Regions from separate parts of the Homo sapiens genome. Here region 1 is linked to region 2. The links are contacts of gene promoters, found by promoter capture Hi-C in blood cells and fetal thymus (Javierre and others, 2016). All regions are on one chromosome and are shown on one strand. Each heading gives the region's core, a stretch centred on a gene start or on the middle of the fragment in contact. The rest is flanking DNA. Distances are from core to core; before and after follow the strand shown. Region 1 overlaps LINC00229 (long intergenic non-protein coding RNA 229). Region 2 holds the start of SHISAL1 (shisa like 1).

Region 1 (6,728 bases), core at 2,637-5,136, 300 kb after region 2:
GCTCTGTCGTTTAACCCTCACGGTGGCCGAGTGGGCAGGTGTGATGATTTGCGCATCTCCCAGGGAGGAAACCCACACATATCAGGGGAACCACAACTTCTCCCAGCTCAGAGAGACAGAGCTGAGCCCTCACCTGCTGGCTGTCAGGTCAGGCCAGCCTCCCACTCCATGACACAGAACGGACCTGAGGGGACCCCTCGGTGAGGCAGGCCTGGGCTCCAGTGCCGGCCCTCTCCCGCTGTGTGGCCTCGGGGAAGCCTCTTCCCCTGTCTGAGCCTCTGCATTCTCATCTGTAGAATGGGGATGCTCTGTCCTGCCTTCCAGAGCGTTGCTGATATCAGAATCCAGGTGTGGAACTTGGGCAGCAGAGTAGCGCCGGTGCCCTCCAGGCCAGCCCATTCTGTCCAGGCTCCAGTTCGGCAGTGGACTCCTCCTGCCCTGACCCTCACCCTCCATCCGCCTGTTTCCCGGGGTACGCTAGTCACCACGCTAAGGATGCCCTGGGGCCAGATACCCTTATGCCCCACCTCCAAGCCCACCAGGTGTGCCTGCCAGTGCTTCACCCTCCTGGGGCTCCACAGGCATCTGGCACCTTGAACCCAGCAGGGCCCCTGGAGACAAAACCCTCATCTACCTTTCACTTAAGCAGGGCCAGAGAGAGGCAGCCTCCTTTCCTTTGCTTTTCAACTGCTCCCAAACCAGCCCCGAAGCAGCCTGCCATGAGGCCCAGACAGCCTGTCCCATCCCAGCCCAGGCAGGATTAATATGCATGTATGGTAATCAGCGAAGCCCAGCAATTTGCATAACAATCAGAGGGAGTGTCCCCTCTCCTGGACTGCTTCCAAGGGCAGCTCCCACCCTGGTTCCCCACAAGACAGCAGGGGAGGGTATGATGGGGCCCCTGGACCCCCCAAGTGCTAGACCGGTGGCCTGGCTTTCAGCCCTGGAGGCTTCAGCCTGGAGAGGGCGGGATAGGTGGGGTACGGGGGTCCTTGGGCAGGGGAAGATACCAGTGAGACACTCATCTGACTGTCTCCAGAACTGTTTCCCGCATTCTTGAGGCCATGCTGGGGAAGCAGGAGAGAAACAAGGGTGTGGCCTCTCCTGGGCCTGCGTCCTGGGGAGGTGTGGAGTTGGGGGGCTCCGGGAAGGGACTCTGCTCGCCTCATCGAGGGGGCCTCTCCTGGGCCTGCATCCTGGGGAGGTGTGGAGTTGGGGGCTCTGGGCAGGGACTCTGCTTGCCTCATTGAGGGAGCCTCTCTTGAGCCTGAAAAATTGGGAAGGTGCCAGGACTCCCTTATAAGGTCGTTTGCCCTTAAGGAGATGGAGGAGAGTGTGTTCTGGAAGCAGCACCGTCCCCCATAAATGAAGCTTCTTATGACTCGGCTGCTTGGCCAACCTCACGGAGCCCCTTCCTTGGGCCCCTGGGGACACAGAGATGCCTGGGCATGGCCCCATCCCTTCTTAAGGGCTCGGCAGAGAGCAGCCAGGCCCTGCAGATCACCCTCATGCACGGGCCAGTCCAAGGTTTCCAGCATCTTGGTAGCTCTGCAGGCAGCGCCCTTCCCCGAGGGGGTCTTAGGCTGTCCCTCCGAACAGATCCCCACTTGCAGGAGGCTGGGCTCTGCTCTCCAAATGCTTGTCCATAATAATGAAACCCTTGCACATCTGCCCAGCACCTAGGAGCTGTCCAGAGTACCACCACATCCCGACCCCTATCACCCCGTGACGGCCCCTCAGTGGGCACTGGAACAGTGGAGCTCAAAGAGGAAGGATCTGGTGCCACCACGCCCCACCCCAGATCAGAGGTAGGAAAACCCAGGACTCAAGAGAGCTGGTCCAGGCCCTGCCCACCATGTCCATCACCCAGCCATCCATGGGCACAGTATGAGCTGGCCCAGGCCCTGCCCACCACGCCCATCACCCAGCCACCCACTGGCACAGTGCCCAACCACTCTTCTCCCCCGCCCCCTGCCTACTCTACTCAGTGACCAGATGAATCTTCTAGCTCCTCCTCTGCCCTGACCTCAGGTGACAAGCTGTGGCTTGCTGGGGAAGCCCAGTGGCTCACCGGGCACCAAAGCCCTCCCTGCAGGTGAGGACCAAGGAGCCCACCCAGCTGGTGCGGAGGCAGGAGGGACACGTCTGCCCTGCACTCTGAATCATGCAGGCATTTGATCCTTAATAACAATATGAGGAGGAGCTGTATCAAGTCTCAGGGTTTTTATGGGCCAAAAGTGATCCCACATTGGCAATTTCGTATAGTTCAATGTGATCATAATTATTAAGGTGTTAGGAGCCCTCTTAACAGAGCAGGCATCGTTCCAAGTTCTTTACACGTGTTTACTTCACCAGCATTTCTGACAGCCGTATCAGACGGCCCATGATGAGGACATAGAGCTCAGAGAAGTGAAGTAACTAACTCAATATCACACCTCTCCCACACACCTAACAGAATGGCTAAAATGAAAAATAATGACACCAGACACTCACAAGGATGTGAAGAACCCGGATCATGATATGCTGCTGCTATGGATGTCTTGGGACAGACACACTGGAAAAACAGCTTGGCTATTTCTTAAAAAATCTAAACATAGGCCGAGCGCGGTGGCTCACATCTGTAATCCCAGCACTTTGGGAGTTTGAGACCAGCCTGGCCAACATGATGAAACCCTGTCTACTGAAAATACAAAAAAATTAGCCAGGCATGGTGGTGCGTGCCTGTAATCCCAGCTACTCGGGAGGCTGAGGCAGGAGAATCGTTTGAACCCCAGAGGCAGAGGTTGCAGTGAGCTGAGATCGTGCCACTGCACTCCAGCTGGGCAACAAGAGCAAAACTCCGTCTCAAAAAAAAAAAAAAAAAAACTAAACATATAATTACCGGGTGACCCAGCAATTGCATTCCTGGGCACTCGTCTTAAAGAAATAAAACATCTGCACAAAAACCTGTACACAAGTGTTCATAGCAGCTTGACTTGTCATAGCCAAAACTGGAAACAGCCCTGATGTCCTTCATCCACCAATGGTTAAACAGGAACATCCAGGCCAGGCGCGGTGGCTCACGGCTGTAATCCCAGCACTTGGGGAGGCCAAGGCAGGCAGATCACCTGAGGTCAGGAGTTCGAGACCAGCCTGGCCAACATGGATAAACCCTGTCTCTACTAAAAACACAAAATTAGCTGGGCGTGGTGGCGCATGCCTGTAATCCCAGCTACTTGGGAGGCTGAGGCAGGAGAATCACTTGAACCCAGGAGGCAGAGGTTGCAGTGAGCCAAGATCATGCCATTGCAATCCAGCCTGGGCAACAAGAGGGAAATTCCATCTCAAAAAAAGAAAGAAAGAAAGAAACAGGAACATCCAGGCCGTGGGACCGTACTCTGCAGTAAAAAGGAACTATTAATCCACTCAGCAAGCTGGAGGAATCCAGGGAATTAGGCTGAGTGAATAAAAGCAATCCCAAAAAGTATGATGCAGCACAAGTCCGTGTATACATTTTTGTAATGAAAAAACTTTAGAATTGGAGGACAGATAGGTGGTGCCAGGGATTAGGGATGTGGAAGAGGGGTGGGTGTGGCCATAAAAAGGTAACTCCAACTCCAAGGATTCTCATGGTGATGGAGCTCTTCCACACCATGACAGGGGTGGTGGAGACAGGAACCTGCACAAATGATAAAGCTGTACAGAATTCACACACACACACACCCACGCACACACACATACACACTAGTACAGGCAAACTGGAGAAATCTGAATAGGATTGGTGGATTGCCCCAGTGTCCATTTCCTGGTTGTACTATTATTGTACTATAGTTTTGCAAAATATTGCCATCGAAGGAAACTGGGCAAAATGTGTAAAGGACACCTTCCTGTTCTTCTTTTTTTTTTTTTTTGAGACAGAGTCTTGCTCTGTTGCCCAGGCTGGAGTGCAGTGGTGCCATCTCTGCTCACTGCAACCTCTGCCTCCTGGGTGGTTATAAGTAAAATGCTTATTCCCTTAGAAATGCTTGTTCCTTGGTGCCAAAAAGAACAACTAGAGCTCAGACAAAGAATTTTCTCAGCAAGGCAACTTTGCTTTCTGCAGAAAGGGTGCTCCTCACAGATGCAGCAATGGCGAGAGCACACCTGAACAAAGGAGGGAAGCAATTTTTATCCCTTATGCGGTTTGTCCCTGCTACTGTGTCCTGTCTCCATTGGCTGGAGCTGGACCTCACAATCTAAGCTAAACCTGACTGGTTAATAACTTAAAACTTTCCTAAATAGGTAAAGTCAAGGGAGAACAAAGGAAAAGAGGAAGTTGCTTATGAAAAGACTTAGAGAAGTAATAACATTTCCAAATAAAGAAGGTGCATAAGCTGTGAGCTGGGACATGCCTGAGCATGTCTAGAACAAATACCTTGGTTAAAGTACAAGGACATAGAATGCACTCATTCCCTTATATCTAAAAGCTACCTAGGATAGGGCTTAACAAACAGTTATTAGCACAAAGCAAGGAGGCTTGAAGGAAGTTAGCCTTTAAAAGAAACTATTATTTCTAACACTTATGATTTATTCTTTAACAAGAAGGGAAACTTTGAAGAGGAATCTTTTTACTTTCCACACTGGGTTCCAGTGATTCTCCTGCCTAAGCCTCCTGAGTAGCTGGGATTACAGGGGTGCACCACCATGACCAGCTAATTTTTAGTAGAGACGGGGTTTCACCATGTTGGTCAGGCTGGTCTTGAATTCCTGGCCTTAAGTGATCTGCCCACCTCAGCCTCCCAAACTGCTGAGATTATAGGTGTGAGCCACTGCACCTGGCCTCCTTGCTATTACTTTTTTTTTTTTTTTTGAGACAGAGTCTCACCCTGCACTGGAGTGCAGTGGTGCGATCTCAGCTCACTGCAACCTCCACCTCCTGGGTTCAAGCGATTCTCCTGCCTCAGCCTCCCAAGTAGTTGGGACTATGGCCGTGTGCCACCTTGCCCAGCTAATTTTTGTATTTTCAGTAGAGACAGGGTTTCACCGTGTTGGCCAGGATAATCTCAATCTCTTGATCTCATGATCCTCCTGCCCCAGCCTCCCAAAGTGCTGGGATTAAAGGTGTGAGCCACCGCACCCGGCCTATTACTTCTTACAACTGTGTGTGCATCTACAATTATCTCTATGTTTTTAATTAACATTTTCTTTAAAGATGGCAAATTAAAAAAAAAAAAGGCTGTCACCACCCAGAGGAACCTAATGGGACATGACAACTAAATGTCATGTGGGATCCTGAGTGGGATCTTGGATCAGAAAAAGGATGTTAGGTTAAAAACGAACAAAACTGAATAAAATATGGGCTTTTGTTAATGAGAATGTTAGCAACATTGGTTTAATACTCGCATCAAATGTACCATGCTGATGCAAGATGCTAAAAATAGGAGAACTAGGGGCAGGGTGTGTGGGAACTCTCTGTATTATCATCTTAATTTCACTTGTAAGTCTACAAATGTTCTTTAAAAAAGTCTACTTAAAATTTTTTGAAGATACCAAATAACTACTTTATAAAAAGGTTTGAAAGCACCTGTGAAAGCTACATTGAGTCCAACCCTTTGACCCAGCAATTCCACTCCTAAATATATACCCAAAAGTAATGAGATCTTGTGTCCACCAAAGGCATATAAAATAAAATTCAGTCAGGCATGGTGGCTCATGCCTGTAATCCCAGCACTTTGGGAGGCTGAGGCGAGTGGATCACCTCAGGTCGGGAGTTCAAGACCAGCCTGGCCAACATGGTGAAACCCCATCTCTACTAAAAATACAAAAATTAGCTCGGCGTGGTAGAGCATGCCTGTATCCCAGCTACTCGGGAGGCTAAGGCAGGAGAATTGCTTGAACCCAGGAGGCGGAGGTTGCAGTGGGCCAAGATCGTGCCACTGCACTCCAGCCTGAGTGACAGAGTGAGACTCCACCTCAAAAAAAAAGAAAAGAAAATTCATAACAGCTTTTTTCAAAGTAGACAAAAACTGAAAACAAACCCAATATCCATCAATAGGAGAAGGGATGGTAAATTAGGTATATTCATACAATAGAATAATACAAATAAAAAGGGAACAAACAACTGCTCCTTTTTGTAAATGGGCAGATCTTGTGAGAATAACGATAAACAGAAGAACTCAGACAGAAATGGCTCTGGCTGGGATGATTCTGGGGACGTGAAGCTCAAGAACAGACAAAACTACCTGCAGTGCCAGAAGCCGTGGCACCACCAGGGTAGGAAATGTGCTGAGGGAGAGAGAACACAAGGACACCTTGGCCAGGTGGCAGCCACAAGGGTGTATAGATGTGTATGTATGTTATCATACATTTTTTATAGCAAAAATAAATTTTGAAAAAAGATCACACATGTTATGGACTGAATGTGTCCCCCCAAATTCATATGTTGAAGCTTTGAGACCAGGTTCAGTGGCTCATGCCTTCAAACCAAGCACATTGGGAGGCCAAGGCAGGAGGAGCCCTTAAACCCAGGAGTTTAAGACCAGCCTGGGCAACATGGCCAAACCTTTTCTGTACAAAAAATGTTTTAAAACCTTAGCCAGTGTAGTGGTGCATGCCTGTGGTCCCAGCCACCCAGGAGGCTGAGGTAGGAGGATTGCTTGAGCCCAGGAGGTTGAGGCTGCAGTGAGCCATGATTACACCACTGTACTCCAGCCTGGGCAAAAGAGTGAGACTCTATCAAAAAAAAAAAAGAAAAAAAAAAGAAGAAGCTA
Region 2 (7,617 bases), core at 3,572-6,071:
GGGGTGACACCTGAGCCTCAGTGTCCTCAGCCCTAGAATGGGGACCAACATCGGCATCTAATTCACCAACTAAAGGAAGTGAGGCATGGAAGCCTTGGACAGGCCTGGCCACGTGCTTCTTGCTGCTGCTGTCTCTGACTCTGCCTCTTCCATCAACCCAAGCCCTAGGCGGCCCCCAGAGCCAGCTTTCCCAAGTACCCACCTAATCACCTACCTGCCCCCTTGGGTTCAAGGCTGCGCTCGCACCTGAGGCCCCTTGTGGCCTGGCACTGTGGCCATCTTGCCCTCCCTGTTCCTGGAGCTTCAGCCCTCTGGGTCTGTGGTGCCTCTGGGCCTTTACTCATGCTGTTCCCCTGTGCTAGGACCACCCTTCCCCTCTCCAAAGCCGTAGCCTGGAGGCTCATCCTGGGTGGCCACCTCTCAGGGCAGTTCTTCCCCCGTGATTCTCTCACTCCCCAGGCGAGCTTCTGACACTCTGACTTCCCCCGTCCCCAGGGTGATCTCGGGCTGTCTGGAGGCCATGCTAGGGCAGGGGCTGGGTGGGGTTCATCTGGGGCCAGCATGGGCAGGAGCACTCTGTGCAGCGTGCCTGGTTTGTGTCCTAACTTGAGAGTGAGCTGGGAGAACAGAGCATGGGCTGCCGAGGGTGGCAGAACCATGACCTCTGCCCCAGGGTTGGCCCTCCTTAGACAGGGGCCACGCTCGGGCCTGAACCCCACAGGATGGAGAACAAAGGACAAGTGGCCTGTTCCCCAAACACATCCCACCTACTCTACTGTCATGGGGGGCGGGAGGCTGACCTTGGGGTGAGGATGAGTCTTGCCCAGCATTCTGGGTGTGAAGCGGCTGGTGGCGGAGCTCAGGAGTCTGGGCCTTTGCCCAGCTGGTCCTGCCCGTGGGCATCCCTTTCCCCACCGTGTACGTCCAAACTGAACCTGCCCATGGGGCCTGGCTCAAGTGCCACCTCATCCACAAGCAGCCCCAGTTACCAGCCCTCCTGACCCCACTGGTCAGGGAGCGGTTTCTCTCCTGGTCGCCACTCAGGGATCACCTAACGAGTCTCTACTGTGGACCAACAGTTCTGGGCGTGGGGGATTCCCGCTGCCATAAGGCTTACAGCCTGGGGGGAGGCGGTCACAGACAGTAGATTACGTAATGATGAGTAATTCTATGTGGGCACGATGATTAGCAGTGGTAGCATTAGCACGGATTAGTAATTCAACAGGGCAGGGCTCTCTGGAGCCCCACCAACAGTCCTGCGGGTAGGCAGCGGCCCAGCAGAAGGGCAGGAAGTACAGACGAGGAGACGGGCTAGCAGCTGCAGATCACCCGAGCCCAGGGCAGAGCACGGTGCCCAATGCTCCCCATTCCTCACCCGTTCCCTTCCCACCCAGCCCTATGCTGCACCCTCAGTCTCTCTGTTACACAGATGGAGAATGTGGGGCTCGGAGAGGGGACTCAAACCCCGGGGTCTGCTCCTGTGCCCTGTCTCCACGACTCATAAGAGTGTTTACCCCTGCAGGCAGCACTTGTGTGCATGCCTGTCTCCACACAGCACACACATGTACACACGTGTGCACATATGTATCATCAGGGATGTTTAACCTCCACAAGTTTCCCAGTCTCCAGGGCCTTTCCTCGGCAGTGCAGACCTAATCCTGAGTTTGTGAACTTTTGTTTTCAGGACATCCACTTAGAGGTTATGAAATCTCACTCTGAAACGTGAAGTCCAGGAATAAACACTTCTCGAGGCTCCACGCCTGCATATGAAGTGAGATCAAAGCATGTCTTTGTGACCCCTTCATGCTTGCAGGGGGAAGCGGCAGGAGAGAACTAGGACATCTTTCCTCGCTGTGCTGGCCAGGACCGAGGCAGCCAGAGTGTATGGCTGGAGAAGGACAGAGAAGCAGCCCGTTCGCCTGCAGCTGGGGTGCCGGGCTCCACGGCTGACAGTGAGTGAGAAGGGCCAGCACCTCACACCCTAGTAACGGCCAATGTGACCTGAGCCCTGCTGACCTGATGCCTAGCCCTGCAGCGGTCACATCCCCGAACCCAGCCCTGCTGAGACCATTTCGTTTTTGCTCATCTCTATGGGCAGCACAGGCCTGACACGTAGTAGGCACTTTATAAACATGTGTTAATTGGTTGAATGAACATAAGCAATGATCATCTCCATTGCTGAGATAAATAAACCACAGCTCAGAGAAACTAAGTGATTGCCCAGAGCTGGAGGGTGGAAGGTTTGCAATCTGAACCCAGGTTTGCTCGACTCCAGACAGGGTGCTGGGGGCGACCACATAGGCTTTGCAGCGAGTCTCCTTGGCCTTGGATCAGAGCTTTATCACTAACTAGCTGGGTGATCTAGGGCAAGTTACTTCACGGGCTTCAGCTTCCTCATCTGTGAAACGGGAGCCGTGCCCCACACCTTGCAGGTATACCAAACATAGAAAGGACCAGAAGCTAGCAGGGCACCCAGAACATTAGCAGCTGATCCATAAACCGTTCTTATCCGATGTTGCCTACTCTACTGTTCCCAAAGCTGATGGTTTAGGTACCAGAGAGGGTCCTGTGTGCCCCTTGGCAAATGAAATTGTGTTTGAACTCCATGTCTACGTCTGATTTCCCCAGTTCATCTTTCCGTGCTTTGCTTGTTCCTTTAGTTGGCACGGATTTCCCTCTGCCTTACCTGTTGGTTTACTGCTTCCCTGCCTAGTACAAGCTCTTCAAGGGTGGGAAATTTTGTGCCTCTGCATCGCCCCACCATGCTTTGCACACAGTAGGTGCTGAATAAATGTCTGCCGGCCATAGAGTAGGAACTCCATTAGCACTCGTTGGCCTGGTTTGTTTTATTGCAAAGAGCAAACTTCCAGATGGGAACAGCAGAGATCCAGGCAGGAGATCTCCTTCAACTGAGACATGGCCTCAACTTTTACGGCCACCACCGGGAGTGACCTTGGGCCATCAGCCCTGGGTGGAAGTCCCTTATTTTAGCCTAGAAACCCAACTCCAGGGCTCCAGTGGGACAGGTCCCCCTAAGTCCAGGGGAGCTGAGGTGGGCCGGCTCACACCCCCTGGGCCCTCACTGTCTCCCTACCAGGCGGGCATACCACTTGCTCCATGGGGCTGCTCTCAGGGTCAGGGCCACGAGGAGAAGCACACTGCCACGAAGGGTGCTGGCCTGGGTGCTGGAATTGGGAAGGCACGCAGGTGACCTCCAACGTGGAAACCTCTCCTATCTCCCCAGATCCCTCCCTCAGTGGATAACCATTCCAGTGTATCCCTAATAAGGCTCTTGTCCCTCACTGACACCTTTCCCTGCTGAATCCACCATGCCCCAGCCAGCTGGGCTCTGAGTCCAAGTTACAAACTCAGCTGTTTCAATGGTTCCCCCTTTTGAGCCCCTGGCCTGGGCCAGTTCTGCACCCATCAAAGTTCTCTGCATGTGCTACTGTCTCGAATGTTGGAAGTAGGCACCACTGTGATCCCATTTTACAGATGAGGAAGCTGAGGCCTGGGGAAAGGGGGACTTGAGCGAGAACACACAGCTGAAAGGGGCTTAGCTGGAAACCCCAACCCTGCTGAAGGCCCTAGATGCCCCACTGTCCTCCAGGGGGCCACACTGGGTCACAGGGCGAGGGGCTCAGGCCAGACTCAGTTTCCTCCCCTATTAAAGGGAGAGCTTGGCCGAGACAATCATGGGCCTTCTTCAGCTCAACAACCCTTTGTTTCTCTCTGTCCTCCTGAGTTATTTGGTTGCACCATGGAGATAAAACAACCCCTGGAAATCCCAGAGGCATTTTTTTCCCACTGGAGAAACACAAAAATATCACATGAAGAATGAATCACTTAAAGTGTCAGGGCAGGAAGAGGAAAGACAGGCATGGCGCTCGCCTCGGGGTGGGGGTGGCTCTGGGTTTCTCTTCAGCTCCCTCAGCCTCCCTGGTCCCCAGAACCCCTTCCTCACTGGAGTGAAGAGAAGCCAAAGCCCTAAGCCTCAGTTTCCCAATCTGTAAATGGGGACAACAAACCTGCCTTGAAGGCGTATTCGGAGGGGCCAATGCATTCATTTGTTCGTTCATTCATTCATTCATTCATCTATTCACTTATTTCGTACCGGTGTGATGCTGGACTGGGACTGCAGACTCTGAAGTGGGTCGAACAGACCCACCTCACCCCCGTGAAGCCAACCAAATGCCCTCCAGGCCATGACTAGGGCATCCTGAGAGCACTCCCTAGGCCATGCCGGACCCTCCCCCGAGCCTTTGGCCTTCTCTCCAACCCCTCTCTATGCAAGGCTCTTGACACAAGGACACTGAGGCACAGAGACGGTCAGCAACTTGCTCAAGGTCACACAGCAGGTAGGTAGTAGCACCAGCATCTGTGCACCCCCACAGGGCTCCCACCCCTCTAGATCAGAGCCTGCTCCCCATCTTGCCCCACTGGCATAGCCGTCACCCCGGCCCCTCCCATTCTTCTGTGACTAGGAGTCACTTAGCAGCCTTGCCTGGCTTCTCCCTTAGACCCAGTGCTTAGCCAGGGCAGGGACCCCAGGGTCAGCGTGAAGGAACAGAGGTGCCCCTGCACAGTGAGGACCTGGAAACCTCCACAGGCTGCTCCTTACCTGCCGAGCCCTGTGACTGAGGGATCAGAAGCCCCCTCCGCTGGCTGCGGTCTCCCTGCAGCTGCTGGCCTCTTCCCCGGCTCCTGGTTGCCACCAACCTTAAACCCCAATAAAAGGAGAGCAACTTGGTCGAGCCTTGTATAGGCAAAAGAGTGTTTTCCAGCGCAGGCTGGCCTCTGTGTGCTGACAAGAATTCAGTGTGCTCCTCAGGGCGGGGAGTGGGGCTAGGGCGCTGAGTCAGCCCTGCAGGAGTCCAGCTCCCGCCTGGGCCTAGGGCCGCCACCTCCCAGGCCCAGGATGGCAGCGGCTGCTCCCGCAGTCCCCACGCACTCCAGCCTCTGGTCTTACAGCCTTGTGCATCCTCAGAGCACCAGCAAGAGCCCCATTTTACAGGTGAGCAAACTAGAGACACTCCCTGTGAGATCCCACAGCTAGAAGCAGCAGGGGCTTAGACCCAGGGCACCGGGCTCCAGGTCCGCACCTCAGCAGATGCTTGGCACAATACATGTGGGTTCCCTCCCGTGGCCCTCAGTCTCTGTTGGGCAATGGAGGTCAGTGGCACCACTGCACAAGCCCCTCTGGCCAGCATGGCCCGGGGAGGGGTGTGGGTAAAACAAACGGTCCCCACACCAGCCCGGGGAGGAAGGGTAGCTGGGACCCGAGAGCCCACAGAGGGTGTGTGGCACCTGCCTGACTCCAAGCTGGGCTGATCTTCCTGCTGTTGCCCCCCTACCCCTGGCCTGTCCCCACCCAGCAGCAGAGGGTCCTCCCTGCCAGTAGGAATGGGGTGGGGATGGGGCAGGAACAGGGCGGGGGATGCCCACACCTGCCACTGTTCGAAACACATCAGTGGCTTCCATGACTGTCTGGACACAGCCCAGGGGCCTGGCTGGCCTCTGCAGCCACACTTCCTGGGTGCCAGGCACCCCCCCAGCCCATGGCCGTCTCCCACCCCTGGGCCTTCGTGCATCGTGGTACCTTGGCGGCGCCCTTGGCTGGCTTCTGGGTGGCATTTAAACGCAGCCATAAAGGAGGCCAGCCCTCCTCTGCCTCCCACCCATCCCTGGAAGCCTGCCCATCCTGAGCCAGGCCAGAAATAAACCTCCTTTTTCCATTCCTTTCGGTGGACAGAGAGCGAGTTCAGACTGGTCTGGGTGCCCCTCATCTAACCACGGTCCCAACAATGGCAGCCCAGAGCGATGGGTGCCACGATGGGAAACCAGGGGGCTATGGGCGCCCAGAGTGCCTGATGCAGCCTGACGGGGTAGGGGCCGGGAGTGGGGGTGGTATTTATTTAATCTTCATGATTAGGAGGGGCTGTGATTATCCCCAATTTACAGATGCGGAAACTGAGGTACAGAGTTTCAGTAACTCGTCCTGGGTCGCCTGGCTGGGGACTCAGACCAGGGGGTCTGGTGTGGACACCTGAAGGATGAGTCGGGCGGTGGGGCGGGGGTGGGGGTGGGGGAGTGTTCCTGGCAGAGGGAACAAGGCACACAAAGTTCCTCCTGCCTCTTGTCTGGGGCTCAGCATAGCAGCAGAGAAACAAAAGGGCTCTGAGCTTGGGGTTTGAACACGGGTTCAAGTCCCTTGCCGCTTCTCAGCTGTGTGATCCTGGGCATGTTTCTCTGTCTCTCTGAGCCTGGACTGCCCTGTGGATTTTGTTATAGTTCAAAGCAGACCTCCTGTGCACCAGATCTGGAACACCTATGACATAGAAAAGTATGGGTCCGCCAATGACATTTACTCCTTGCGATCCACCCTACGAGGCAGGAATTTTAAAAGTTCACCTTTGACAGAGGTTGGAAGCACAACAAAGACCAACCTGCCTGGCAGACCGGGGTGAGGGCTGCCTGGAGGGAAGGTGACCCCACCTCAGGGAGGCCACTGTGACCACATCCTCTTGCACAGTGGGTCTTTGCCTCAGCAACTGTGGGGGAGGAAAAGCACCAACATCCCCTCTCGGCCGAGGGGACCAGGCTCTAGAAAGCTCACAGCGGCGCTATGGAAAAACCTGGAGACAGCCCTGGAGACGGCCCAGTGGATGAATAGGAAAATGCATGGTGTTATGGCCAAACACCGGAACACTCTTCAGCTACCCAAATGCACTGCAGCCGCACAGAACATTACGGGGCATCTCAGCGCTATGAGGCTAGAGAGAAAGTAAAGTCTCCAAAGATGAAGTTCAGCACAGTACGCTTTCTAGAAGGCTAAAAAGAACTGTAAATAAAATGTTCTTTTTGAGAGTGCATCTGGCTATAGCAAGGCATACAGCGGGACGTGGGGTGAAGTGGGCCCTGCTTGGGAGCGCACAGGCTGACGTTCCTGCTCTCAGGCTGAGGGATGGGTCAAGGATGTTTCTTATATTATTAACAAACAAACAAGTAAATAAAGAAGTCTTGGCAAGGACTGCCGAGGGCGAATACCAGGAAGCAGGCAGAGACATGGGCCTGACTCCATGGCCTGGAGTCTGGAAAATAGAATAGAAAATCAAGGTTCAAAATATATGTAAAGAAAAATAATGATTACAGTACCCCCCAGCCCCCATCCATTGCACACAGGCCCACCCCTCTGGGCAGCTGAGACCCACACAGGGGCCTGGGTGGGGACTGCAGAAGCTGCTTTGGCCTGGCTGGGGGTCCCTGAGAAAGGAGCGTTTTTTTCCGGTTCACAGTCCCAGGCTGCTGGGTGTGGTGCCGGAACTGTCCAATTCCAGTAGGGAATCGGTGTGAATTCCCAGCCTCCTCCTACTGAGCCCACATACACCTCGTCCCTTTGAGACCCTCCCAGTTATAAACTCTCTGTGCCTCAGTTTCCCCATCTATAAACTGAGGACACCAGGCCATATAACATCCTCCTATATTTCCATGTTTGGAACTGAGCTGGTGGCCCCATGTCACCTGGGCCACAGAATCCCAATGCTGCTTCTTACGCTGTTGTTACCTGCCTGGCGGGTCACCTGCCTCGAGGAGGCTTGGTTTCTTCCTTTGTGGATG

Evidence for each region. Contacts are between HindIII fragments. The CHiCAGO score rates a contact against its expected background, and 5 or more counts as called.
Region 1: a fragment that was not itself captured here is called in contact with the fragment with the promoter of SHISAL1 in region 2 in 1 of 17 cell types (total CD8 T cells); the score reaches 5.3 in total CD8 T cells.

Annotation. Positions count from the first base shown.
Region 1 is chr22:44,608,015-44,614,742 of GRCh38, forward strand. The region is part of intron 3 of LINC00229 (long intergenic non-protein coding RNA 229); the gene reads right to left. Among named protein-coding and RNA genes, the nearest start is that of LINC00229, 14 kb to the right of the region's middle. The HindIII fragment of the contact is 5,035 bases long and covers 1,370-6,404 here.
Region 2 is chr22:44,308,130-44,315,746 of GRCh38, forward strand. SHISAL1 (shisa like 1) reads right to left here and starts at 4,822. Exons shown (of 5, transcript NM_001099294.2): 1 at 4,622-4,822. It overlaps LOC101927499 (a long non-coding RNA gene), which reads left to right and starts at 4,882. Exons shown (of 2, transcript XR_244444.3): 1 at 4,882-5,014; 2 at 6,292-6,870. The HindIII fragment of the contact is 15,394 bases long and covers 1-7,617 here.